Linked DNA regions of Homo sapiens: all the other regions are linked to region 4. The links are contacts of gene promoters, found by promoter capture Hi-C in blood cells and fetal thymus (Javierre and others, 2016). All regions are on one chromosome and are shown on one strand. The core of a region is centred on a gene start or on the middle of the fragment in contact, and the rest is flanking DNA. Distances in the headings are between cores, read along the strand shown.

Region 1 (3,170 bases), core at 26-2,525, 570 kb after region 4:
TTACATGCCCGAGAGTTCCCTTCTGCCACTTAAAAGTGTTAAAATATTAAACAGGAAAACCCATAAATCAAAAGGTTTGGAGAAATATACCACAGATTTGAAGGAACCAACAAATGCATAATAGTAATAATAGCTAAGGCACATATGCTGTTTACCATGTGGCAGACACTATTCTAAGTGCTCGATGTAATAATCTCATTTAATCTTCATGTGCCCAAGATCCCACAGCTAATAAGAGGTAGAGCTGGGATTCAAATGTAGTCACTCTGGTTCCAGAGGCTTTACTCTTAATTACCATGCTGCTTCTGAGTTGTTGGAAGATATTTTGCCTGGAGAAGTTCGAACTCGAGGTTGATATTACAGATTGCAATTGCACGTTTGCATTCCCCTAAAATTCAAATGTTGAGGTGCTAATCCCCTGTGTGATGGCATTTGGAGAAGGGGCCTTTGGGAGGTAATTAGATCTTGCAGGTGAATCCCTCTAATGGGATTAGTGTCCTTATAAGAAGAGACACCAGAGAGATGATCTCTCTCTCTGTCTCTCTCTCTCTCTCTCTCTCTCTCTCTCTCAGCCATGTGAACACACAGTGAGAAGCCAGCTTTCTGCAAACCAGAAAGAGGGCCCGCACTAAAAACCACACCTAGATCTCAGACTTCCAGTCTCCTGAACTGTGAGAAATAAATTTTTGTTATTTAAGCCATGCAGTCTATGGTATTTTTCATAGGCTTGTCTTCAGATATTTGAAGGGCTGTGTATGCAAGAAGTGTTAAACTTATTCTATAAAGACCAAAGGGATTAGAACTAGAAAGTTATTCTTTCCAGCCAACTTTGTAATTGGTAAAAGTTCCTAAAGAAGAAATGGGTTTCCTCAGAGGGTGCTAAGTTCTGTGTGCCTGGATATTAGATGCACCTGGTGTTAGTAATATGGAGAGAATGTAATCATTGAATGAGACTCTATAAAATTTCTTCCAACTCTTGAGAGTCTATAGAATCATTAAAGTCACTGCAAAAGAGCTCGGATTCAATGAACTGGATGTTGAGGATTCTTAACTTCCACAGAAGCTACACCCTCTCCACTTACTTTGCTCCAGGACATCTCGGAGCCATGATTTGCGTATTTTAAGACTCTACACGCCTAGATACTCTTCCTTCAGAGGTCAGCTTAGGCACTGCATCCTGCAAGATGTGTCTCCCACCCCATTCTTGACACCAGTTTAGGTGCCCGCATCACCCCATCTTTCCCTGACCCTGCCACTTCTCATACTACACCGAATATTCTGTTTTGTCATCAATCACCCCTGTATTGGTGTCTTAGGGCTGCAGTAACAAGTTACCACAAATGGGATGACTTACAGCAACAGAAATGTATCATCTCATAGATAGCTCTAGAGGCTAGAAGTCCAAAATCAAGGTGTCAGCAGGGCCATGCTCCCTCTGGAGCCTCTGGGGAGAATCCTTCCTTGCCTCTTCCTAGCTGGCAGTTGTCACTGGTGATCCTCGATGTTCCTTGGCTTGAGGTTGTATCACTCAAACTGCTGCCTTTGTCTTCACATGACCTTGTCCCATCTGCATCTGTGTCTTTGTGCGTCCCTCTCCTCTTCCTATTAGGACATCAGTCACATGAGATTTAGGACCCACCCTAATTTAATATGACCTCATCTTAATTTAAGTAGTTACATCTTTAACAGCCCTATTAGCAAATACCGTCACATTCACAGGTATCAGGGATTAAGGTATCAATATAACTTTGGGTGGCTTATGCCTGAAATTCCAGCAATTTGGGAGGCCGAAACAGGTAGATCACCTGAGGTCAGGAGTTCGAGACCAGCCTGGCCAACACAGTGAAACCCATCTCTACTAAAAATGCAAAAAGTAGCCAGGTGTGGTGGTGCGTGCCTGTAATCCCAGCTACTCAGGAGACTGAGGCAGGAGAATCACTTGAATCCGGGAGGTGGAAGTTGCAGTGAGCCGAGATCGTGCCATTGCACTATAGCCTGGGTGAGAGAGTGAGACTCCATCTCAAAAAAAAAAAAAAAAAATATATATATATATATATATATATCTTTTGGAGGGGGCACATAATGCAACCCACCACATTCCCCAACCTCTCCCTGCTCTCTAGCCTGTGGGTTCTTTGAAGATTGTGTCTTCATTCCACATATTTTTCTTACGTCTATTATGAACTACACCCTGTTCTAGGCACTGAGGGCACATCACAGTCAAGGTCCCTACAGTTGGTGGAGCTTCTTCCTCCACATGGATTCAGACAGTAAACATTGAAGTGGCCCTTCAGTGCTGAAGCCAAACACTAAGTGCATGTATGCACATACACACATACAGTAGGCGCCCCTTAGCCATGGTTTCCCTTTCTGAGGTTTCAGCTACTCATGGTTAACTGCAGTCTGAACATACTAAATGCGAAATTCCAGAAATAAACAATTTCTAGATCTTAAATGGCATGCCTTTCTCAGTGGTGTGATGAAATTTCATTCAGTCCCACTCTGTGCTGCCCAGGACTTGAATCTTACCTTTGTCCAGCCAATCCACACTGTCTACACCACCTGCCCGTTAGTGTCTCAGTAGCCGACTCAGTGATTGGATCACCTGTCTCTGTATGGCAGTGCTTGTGTTCAAGTCACCCTTATTGTATTTCACAATGGCCCGAAAGCACAAGAGTAGTGACACTGGCAATTTAGATATGCCAAAGAGAAGCCGGAATGTGCTTCCTTTAAATGAAAAAGTAAACGTTCTCAACTTAATAAGGAAAGAAAAAAAATGTATGCTGAGGTCAGACATTGGTATGGTAAGAACAAATCTTTTGTCTGTGAAATTGTGAAGAAGGCGAAAGAAATTCATGCGAGTTTTGCTGTTGCACCTCGAACTGCAAAACTGTGGCCACAATGCATGATAAATTCTTAGCTAAGATGGAAAAGGCATTGAGTTTGTGGGTGGAGGACATGATGGCAATCAGGTGTGGTGCTATCCTCAGTTTTAGGAACCCACTGGGGAGTCTTGGAACATATCCCTCGTGGGTAAGGGGAGGCTACTGGATATGCGTATATATAGTCACTTAATATATATTGGATGAGGGAATGTTAACTGGAACAGTAGAAGATGAAGGATAAATTACTACATTTCATCCAGCCAGTGCTTTCTGGCATGTTTATCA
Region 2 (3,243 bases), core at 136-2,635, 730 kb after region 4:
CCCCAGGGAGGCTTCCTGGTGATTTGCATATAATCACACAATGCCAGGCACAACAAAGCCACTCAAACAGCAGAGCCTTCTCAGCTGAGTTTAAAGTTTAATCTCCTTAATACAAAAGTTTCTGCTTTGCTTTTGATGGGTTCTGGAACTCTTGCTGATGATGCTAAACAAATAGTCACCCTTTCTCCCCCTCTGGAGGCTTTGCCCAGCGCATTGTGGCAGCACAGGCCCCAGTTGTTGTGGTTTACGGGCCAGACCTGCACCTGCACTGTTTGTGTGAGCTCATCTGGATGCCCAGAAGGGCTCTTTAAAGAGAGCCCAGCACAGCCGCAGATGGAGCAGGAGAAGACACCAGCCCAAGGACTGCTACAACCCTTGGCCAGACACCAGCTCAAGGCTGCCTGTACTCTCGGTGCCCCCCACCGCCCTCTACTTCCCTTACAGAAACATTCATCCCCAAGTCCTCCTCCCAGAACCCAGCTCCCTCCTATGTGTCTCTCAGGACCTTCCTCTTCCAGATGCCGTCCAGCCCCCTCGTACTTCCCCTCCCAGACTCACACCCCCTCTCAGTTTCTGCACACTTTGCCTCATCATCTGGAGGCCATTCCTAGGTCAGTTTTCCTATTTACTTCAGCACTTCACCTATAGGAGTCATAGAGCCATCCCAAGCAAAGAGCCTCTAGAAGACCCTTTCAAAGACATGCTCAGCACTTTACGTTTTGGCTCCAGCTCCTCCGCCCGGTCATTTTGAGAATGAGCCATGATCCTCCATCTCTCATATTGATGCGGGAATTGGAAGTTGGTCATTGAACTGGTGGCCTGAATAGGGGTGCCCCAGCCATCTTGGTTATCTGTTTTTGTGTAGCAAACAATCTCAAAACTTAGCAGCCTAAGACAACGGTTGTTTTATTTTATCTCACAGTGCTGTAGTTCAGAAACCTGTTCAGGGCTCAGCTGGGTAAGTCTGCTCTGTTGGCATTGGCTGGGGTTACTCTGTGATCTGGGATCTAAGATGGTTTCATTTTCATGGCTGGTGACTTAGTGAGTATGGCTAAAAGGCTTGGCTCAGCTGGGACTGTTGAGCAAAGGGCCTGCACATGGCCTCTCCAGCCTAGCAGATCAAGGCTCCCAGAGAGAGTGTCCCAAAAGAACTCTGCAGAAGCTTCAAGCCTTCACATGACCTAGGCTCTAAAATCCCAGAATCTCACTTCTGCTACATTCTATTAGTCAAGCAGATTCAAAAGAAAAGAAATTGCAACATCTTTAATCTGTCACACCAGCTAAAGAGGTCTTTTCAGAAGCCACCAGCCCCTGTAACTAGTTCAGAGACAGAGTTTCCTGGTCCCAATGTCTAAATAACCTATCCTTGCAAATAGAACATCACAGTTACCAGCCTGCATGTACTAGGAGCTGACATCCTTTCCATTCTTTCCCCAGAGACTCAAACCAACATCCTACCCCTGGGCGGTGTCCCCATTTGACCCCGTTTGGCCTGCCTCTTACCTACCTTGGCTGTTGGCAGGAACTTTGGTTTTTCTCAGTTGCTGCCAGACCTAGATCTGCCCTTTTCAGATTTTTGTTCACAGATAGCTTTAGATGGGAGATAAGGAAGCTTGAGTCAGGTCAGTGCTGAGGCGAAGATGCTGCCCCAAGACAGGGGGAATGCCCCAGACTTGTCCCATCCAGCCCTTGCAGAATGGCACCAGCAACAAGCACCTGCTGTAGAGAAGGGTTGTCACTATGTTGCAGCTCTGAGACTCTACAGAAGTCAGAGGTGGGTCATGGAGATGAGGGGACAAGGAGAGTGAGGAGGGGATAGGTGACTATCTGCCACACCACTTAGGTACTGAGTCACATCAACATGTATGCAATACCTGGTCAGACAGGCACCCGCAGACCCATCTGGCCCAGACCAGCTGCACTTTCCCAGGCTTAGGCTGGGAGTGGCAGTCATCTGGCAGAGTCTTGGTTCCTGGAGTGAGGGCACAAGGTCACACAGGCCAGGGCCAGAGACCGCTCTCTTTTCTTTTTTTTTTTTTTCACAAATACATTTCAAATGTTATTATGAAATATGCAAGCCATACAAAAAGGAATGAAGAATACAATAATAAACACCCATGTACCCACAACCTAACTTAAGAAATAAAATATTAGCAAAGAAAATCTCATAATGTAATATCTCAGGGCTCTGGGGAGTAGGGGAGAGAACAGGGTCTGCTCATGTTCCCACAGGAAGGAAGGAGTATTGAGAAGGAAGAGAGAAGCAAACTAGAGCATCAGCAGCGGCTCCTCCGAGAGAGAGATGGCTCCTTGAGCACCAGAGTCAAGGGAGATTTTATGGGCTTGGGAACAGACCACAGAGAATACACCACCCTTCTTCTTTCAACTCTCAGCTCAGAGACTTCCCAGATCCCACAGTCTGAATTAGTCATGAGTTCCTTAGAGATGCCTTACGGATTGACTTCTCTGTCCTTGTCTGCTCTTGGGCTGTTTATAATATATCCATGCCTCTCCCACGCCTGACTATAAACTCCGTGACTGTGCCTCGCTTTTGATCTCATGAAGTTCTTGTACAGGGTAAGAACTCCTTGTTATTGACTTGAATGTGTGACTAATCCTGGGAAACCCCCATGGTTGACGGGCAGGGGACAGAAGCATTAACAGAAAGGGAAAAGCAAAGCGAGTTGGGCCGGGCATGGTGGCTCACGCCTGTAATCCCAGCACCTTGAGAGGCTGAGGCAGGCAGATCACTTGAGGTAAGGAGTTCAAGACTAGTCTGGCCAACATGGTGAAACCCCATCTCTACTAAAAATACAAAAATTAGCCAGGCATGGTGGTGCATGCCTATAATCCCAGCTACTCAGGAGGCTGAAGCATGAGAATCACTTGAACCCGGGAGGAGGAGGTTGCAGTGAGCCGAGATCGCACCAGTGTACTCCAGCCTGGGTGACAGAGCAAGACTCCATCTCAAAAAACAAAAAAAGAAAGAAAAGTGAGTTGAACATAAGAGACCAGAGCATAGCTAACACCCAGACTTTGGTTTCTAATAACATTCTCCAATAAAAAGGAACCAGAACTCCTTGGGGATATGGCCAATTCTAGGACGGGGACAGGAAATATACGAGATGAGATCAGGTGCGGTGGCTCACGTCTGTAATCCCAGCAATTTGGGAGGTCGAGGCAGGTGGATCACTTGAGGTCAGGAGTTTGAGACCAGCCTGGCCAACATGGTGAAACCCCATT
Region 3 (2,917 bases), core at 189-2,688, 540 kb after region 4:
TGGCTTCCAGCCACCCCGCACTTCTGAGTTATTCTTGGTAAGCTCAATGCCAACCACTGAATTGAAAGTAAGAGATGTTTTTCTGTCTTTATCTTCCTGAACTACTCTGTTGCCTCTGATTTTTTTTAATTTCTTTCTTGAAATCTCTTCCCCAGAATTCTAGGATGCTTTATTCCCCTGGTTTTTCCTGTTTCTTCTCCAATTAGTCTTCCCTTATCTTCTTCATAGGGTTCTCCTCTCCTCCTCTGACAACCATTCAAATGTCACTGTTCCCCAGGCTTCCATCTTTAATCATTTAGTCCACAGCTTCCAAACCTGTGTGTCAGAAATCAGTGTTATAGGCATTCCAAAGATACTGATCCTCTTAGCTCTTGGAAGTAGCCTGACCTGTTTACCCCAGTATGCCAGGTGCTCATTATTCTTTTCTATGTGTGCCACCATGTGACTTTATCTTTCAATCACTCCCCCAAGGGATTTCATCCTCTTTCTTGGTTTCATTACCATCCACATCACGATGGTTCTGAAACTTATGTACTGAGAGCAATTCCATGGTGGAAACTTGAGATTCACCCTTGAATCTTCTTCTCTCTCATGTTTAAATAATGTTCAAACCTGTCTGATCCTTGCCCTCCCATCCACCACTACTCAGTCCCCATCAGCTCTTGCCTGGATTATTCTAGAACCCTCCTGACTGATCTTCCCGCAGCTTTGTGATTCTCAAAACCACCTTCCTCTCAGCTGCCAGAAAAGTCTATATAAAATGCAAATCAAACCAACATCACTGTCTTTCTTAAAAGCCCCCAATGGCGTATGGCCTAGAGGATGCATTCCAAACTCTTCCCTATACCAGAAACATCATGATTGACCCCTACTCATTTCCCCAGCCTCACTTCCTGCCACTTCCTCTTTCTGTCCTTGCCTCCAGGACTTTGCCCGTGCTGTCTTCCTACCTATTTTGCCATCACCACACACACCCTACCTTGCTTTAAGCCCCAACTCAGGTATCACCCTGCCTTCCCTGAGTCTCTCTCCCCGCTACAAGGAAGTGATGCGTTCTGGGTTTCTCTGACTATCCTAGGTGTATTTCTGTTCTTGCACTTAGCACGTTTGCATCACAATTATTTTATTTTAAAGTATTTCTCTCCCCACTAGATAGCCATGTTCTTTTGTATCCCCAGTTCTGACACACAGAAAACACTCAATCAATAATCAATAAATCAATGTGACCTTAGGCTTTTCCAAAAGTAGAGCATCACACACAATTCTAGAAGCAACATTTAGATTCCTTTGGAACAATCATAAGATCAGTAAGCTTTAAATTTGAGGCTGATTTCAAAGAAGTATTTCAAGCTTCTTTAATTATAGCATATATGGACCAAATCCTGTCAAAATTAGACACAAATGATGATTCAAATAACTTTGTTTTGCTGAAATAAGGCTGCATGTGGCTTTACTTGAATTAAATAATACATTGTCTTGGAACCTGGATTTGTTTTTCTTCTTCATTTTGTATCGGTGTTTTGTATGAAGCTTGTTAGCTTTCAAGGAATTTTCACATGTATATCCTATTTTTGCCTTCTAATCCTCTGAAGACAGCTAAGAAGAGGTGATTATACCCATTTTACACATGAGGAAAATGGAACTGAGAGATTATTATTGTTCCAAGCCAGTGACTAATGTGTAACTGTGATTACCAGCAACCTCTTTTCTCCAATGCACCATACTACCTCTGGTTGTAGCTTTAATTTCTTCCTTTCTTCCTTCCTTTCATTCTTTTTACAATCCAATTTGACTCACAAATCAAATATATTCTGGACTATCTACAAATTCAACCAGATTAGAGAATAATTTTGGTTATGTGCCTCATACGTACATTTGTTTTTATATTCTGCCATACACACTGATGCTGAATTCTGTACCAGCTGAATTTGCTGGTAAGCCAGCAACACCTCAACTATCATGTATTTAATTTTAATTAAATGGAAGTTGTCTAACCTACTACAGAACAACAATTATAATAATTATAGTTAGAAAACATCTTAGAATTCCTCTAGTGGAACCACTAATACAGTGTATAAATGCTTTCTAGAATAGGCCAAACAAAAGGTTCTCTTATTATTTCTTCACCATCCTCAGTAATAAGGTTCTCACTATCCCTAGAAGCAATGCTGTCAATTTTAGAACCTTGGGGAAACGTTTTACTCTATAGTCTGTTATCTCTCTGTAATTCCCTCATGGTGAAAACAGCATATTTTTCTGGTTGTTGATACTACAAACCGACCTAAGTCTGGATTCCAGCTCTATTGCTTATAAGTAGCTGTGAGACCTTGCAAATAATTTAGTCGCAGACCTCAGTTTCCCCATCTGTAAAACAGATCAAATGAAGCAATACATGTAAATTGCCAAGCACTACAACATCTTCAGGAAGTGAATATAGTAAGTGCTCAATAAATATTTGTTAAATGAATGAATGATTCCTTATTTATCCTCGGCCTTATTTTGAAGCAGTAACTCCTCATGTTGAATCACCGATTTTCAAAAACAAAACATTTATTTAGTGCAGTAAACCAATAACAAACAACTTTCTTCTTAGGAACGTAATCTTCTTAAAACTCCTGCTGACCTGCTCACTCCCATCAGGTATAATAGGGCAGGAATACTGTTATGCTGTAACCTGAATCATACAAATCTAACTTCTACCTCATGTATTTAGAAGCATCATTTCAAGTTGCATCCAATCCTTGGACTTGTGATTAAAGCATAATTTGTAAACCTTGCCAGAGTAAATCTTGACAAGTCAGAGTACAAGGAAGGGACTTTGAAGAGCTGTTGTGTAGATGATGGAACAGTGTTTCTGTCACTTAGTAGAGCTTAGATGAGTCTCTATCAAAGATCAGGAGACACGGCTCTATTGAAG
Region 4 (3,226 bases), core at 696-3,195:
CCAATTCCTTACGTTTACAAAAATAAAATGCTTTAAGTTTTAAAATTTATGTCAGTAAATGTAGGGCTAGCCTGATAAATTCACGTTTTATTTGGGAAGACTTGACTACACACACACACACTCCCTCCATCTCCGAAGGGGAAAAGCGACAAGGACAAACCGCAGCCTCAATACATCAAAGGCTGAGCTGGCACTACAGCCCATACATCATCAAGTTCACGGACACCCCTAGATGGCTCCGTGACACGGTCAAGGTCCTTGGGAACTCCCACACATTTCTATACTCGGCACACCGATCACCTCTCTTCAACTGACCTCTAGCCAACCTAAGATCCTGGTGGGAAGATTTATGAAAGGCAGTAAAATCAAGACAAGCAGGGAACCTGCGTAACCCCTTTAAGTCTCTAATGAAACAAATGCAATCCCTTAAGATATTTCTTAAGGAAAAGCTAGAAGATGCCTCTAATCGCAACTTGTTTCCAGAAAAGCTGGAAGGGCACCACTAAGACAAGGCAAAAAAAAAAAAAAAGGCAAAATATCGGAAAGTCTTATGCTGGAAGCGGGGGTGGGGAGGCGGGGGACAGGCAGACAGGGCTAGAAACACCCAAATCAATTCCTCAGGGAGCGAAACGGCAGAGGCCGGCAGCCCGCGGCCCACGTGCACTTGCTCAGGGAACCGTTCCAGCGAAACCTGACCCGGATCGGAATCCTCCCGCAGCACAGCGGCCGTGTTTATCGGAATGGAACGCTACAAGTTGTCACCTGCATCCCTCTCCCAGCTTTGACAGGGAACACGCGCTGCCCCCACGCCCACACCGACACCCGGATCCCTATCCAGCCCGGCCAGAGTCCCAGGGGCCAGGGACCAGTGCAGGGAGAAGGTCCCCCACCTCAGCCCTCAGGACCCCCAACCACAGCCCACCCGCCCCCACCCTGCTCGGTTCTAGGCCCAGCCGAACCTACATGTCCCCGTAGTGTCGAGCGTTATCATCCACAGTCGCCCCTCAAACTGTGACCCCCACCTGGGAGACCCGGAATCATCCAGGACCCTGGTGTGGGGGGCAGTACTCCCCATATCTGCCCCCCGAAAACTGCTATGGAGCAGCCGCGCCTCGGCGGGCAGGTGAGGGGGCCGAGCCCACCAGCGCCGCAGCCCCGCTGCCTACCTTCTTCAGCGCCGGCTGCCGCTCCCGGGCAGACATCGCCGGCCCTGACTTTGGGGCTGACACCGCCAAAGGGCAGTCAGTGCTCGCCCAGGCCACTTCGGGAGGCCCAGGGGCACGGCGAGGGGTCGGGGAAAGGCGATCGCCCACTACAGCCCGCGCGCCTAGACTGAGGGAGGAGCCGGGCTGCAGAACCGGCGGCGGATGGAGACGGGAGGGAGGCTGCGAGGTCGCTCGAGGAGAGACTAAGGCTCTAGAAACGGAGAAGCGGGCGCTCTGCGGGAGGCGGCGGCGCTGCCGCTGGCCGTCAAGGGCGGGAAGTGTTCTGGGACTCTCATTAGGGGCCGCGAGCCTCGAGCGTCAAATTCCCGCGGCGTCCGCCTAGCGCGCTGCTGTGGCGGGCGCGGAGGGCGCGCGCCGGCAGTGGGGGCTGCGGCGGCGGAGGGCACGGGCCCCCGCTCAGCGTCCTCACCTTCTTGGTGCAGCTGCCTCCCGCGAGCCGAGACACTCCTGTCAGGGAAGAGGAGCGCCCCGGCTGTCCCCCTAGAGTCTCCTGCTGGGGGGACATCGCTTCCATGAAGAAAATCTTCAAACAAATCCCAGCCCAGGAGGAGGCTACACGATCATGTCCGCGGGCTGCCGGCCGGAGGGGCGAGGACGCGCGGGCGGAGGCGCGGCTGCCGTGCTCAGGCAGGGAGCCGAGCTCCGGGTGCTCGCCGCGCGCCTCCCGTCGGGGCCATGTACCTCCGCCTGCGCTCGACACCGCGGGCTGGAGGCGAGTGCAGCGGCGACAGCCCGTCAGCGCCGCGGCCCGCCCCGCCTCGGGCCCGCCCCCTCCGCTCCGGGCGCCCTGCGCCGGGGCCCGCCCCCGCAGCCCTCCTCAGCCCTCCTCCAGCCTGGGCCCTCCTAGCCTCGTCCCAGCCTGCGGCGCGCCTGGCGGGCGTCTCTCTATATATGTTAGCACACCGGCCACCGGCTGACCTTTTCGGTCTGTGACTCCGCGTGGGTGCAGCCCGCAGGAGCTCATCGGCCTGTGTCACGCACGGGGGCCTCTAGTGCACGGACACGCGCCTCTCCCGCCACCTGCCCACTCCCACCAGACCCCATCCCTTCCCGCGCCGTGCCCGCGGCGGAAGGCGCCCCTGCAGCGCGTGCATCCGCGGAGCGGTGGCGACCTCAGCCTGAGCAGAGGAGTTGCAGTGATTCCTGCCTCGCTTTCAGCGGACTGCGGAGGGAATCCCCCACCCCACCCCACTGGGGATAGGGTGGCACGTCGCAGAGTGTCGCAGCTGTACAAATTTGGAAGCCCACAGCATCGCCTGACCTCTTGTGCAATCCCGAACGCTAGCCTGTTCGGGTAACCCTGAGTGGGCTTCTGCAGCCGGTCATGTCAGCGGCCCCTGCACATTTGCACCCGCGGTTTCCGCTGTCTGCAGGCTGCAGAGACGGGGGCATTCCAAACGTGAAAGAGCAATGAAGGAAAATGCAGACAGAGCGAGGACGCCGAAATTTGGCTAAGCTATTGAGAAGGCTACAATATGTGGAAGTGTTTATCAGATATCTGCGCCGAGAGCATAACTTCCTGTCAGCCCAAATAGAGGCAAAAATATTTTAAAGGCCAAAGAATAATCAGAGGGAGAGGATTTGGAGCTGACCCGCGTTGAGCTGAGTGTTGCTGCACTTTGCGGGGCTGGTTGACTGGTACGGATGATTCGGTAGATGGCATTCTTCCCTTGGAGTCAGGACTAGAGAAGCAGTGGCGGATTAGTGAGGAAGGACACCACGCTATGATATTAGGTTGTGGAAGGGGTTTGGTTTGCTTTTGTGGTAAGAAGAAAAAAATCGAGGTTCCTGCCAGGTTAGGCTGTTATTAGGACAGGTTGTAGAAGAATAGGGCTCTGGCCGGCTCTGTTCCAAGGAAGGGATGCTGTCCAACACACACTCGCGCGCGCACACATCACCACCATGCCCAGGAATGGTTTATTGTGGAAATAATAGGGGGAAAATGTTCCAGCCCGTTTTAAGCCTTGTCCACCTCACACTGTTTAAAGTAGGCTTACATA

The links. The method cuts DNA at HindIII sites, captures the fragments that hold promoters and counts their contacts. A CHiCAGO score of 5 or more calls a contact.
Region 1: a fragment that was not itself captured here is called in contact with the fragment with the promoter of ARHGAP20 in region 4 in 2 of 17 cell types (M1 macrophages and naive B cells); the score reaches 7.2 in M1 macrophages.
Region 2: a fragment that was not itself captured here is called in contact with the fragment with the promoter of ARHGAP20 in region 4 in 1 of 17 cell types (total B cells); the score reaches 7.7 in total B cells.
Region 3: a contact is called between a fragment that was not itself captured here and the fragment with the promoter of ARHGAP20 in region 4, in 5 of 17 cell types (M1 macrophages, total B cells, naive B cells and 2 more). The highest score is 9.3, in M1 macrophages.

The regions. Positions count from the first base shown.
Region 1 is chr11:111,278,019-111,281,188 of GRCh38, forward strand. All of the region lies in intron 2 of POU2AF2 (POU class 2 homeobox associating factor 2), which reads left to right. Among named protein-coding and RNA genes, the nearest start is that of POU2AF3, 19 kb to the right of the region's middle. The HindIII fragment of the contact is 4,046 bases long and covers 1-3,170 here.
Region 2 is chr11:111,439,090-111,442,332 of GRCh38, forward strand. It overlaps a transcript of BTG4 not described here. Among named protein-coding and RNA genes, the nearest start is that of POU2AF1, 61 kb to the left of the region's middle. RefSeq lists silencers at 161-210, 231-300 and enhancers at 209-795, 1,632-2,831. The HindIII fragment of the contact is 450 bases long and covers 1,161-1,610 here.
Region 3 is chr11:111,252,918-111,255,834 of GRCh38, forward strand. All of the region lies in intron 1 of POU2AF2 (POU class 2 homeobox associating factor 2), which reads left to right. Among named protein-coding and RNA genes, the nearest start is that of POU2AF2, 8.7 kb to the left of the region's middle. The HindIII fragment of the contact is 180 bases long and covers 1,349-1,528 here.
Region 4 is chr11:110,710,492-110,713,717 of GRCh38, forward strand. It overlaps ARHGAP20 (Rho GTPase activating protein 20), which reads right to left and starts at 1,946. Exons shown (of 15, transcript NM_001384657.1): 1 at 1,636-1,946. The coding sequence starts at 1,740. RefSeq lists enhancers at 165-810, 1,793-2,294 and silencers at 1,818-1,877, 1,898-2,057. The HindIII fragment of the contact is 6,153 bases long and covers 1-3,226 here.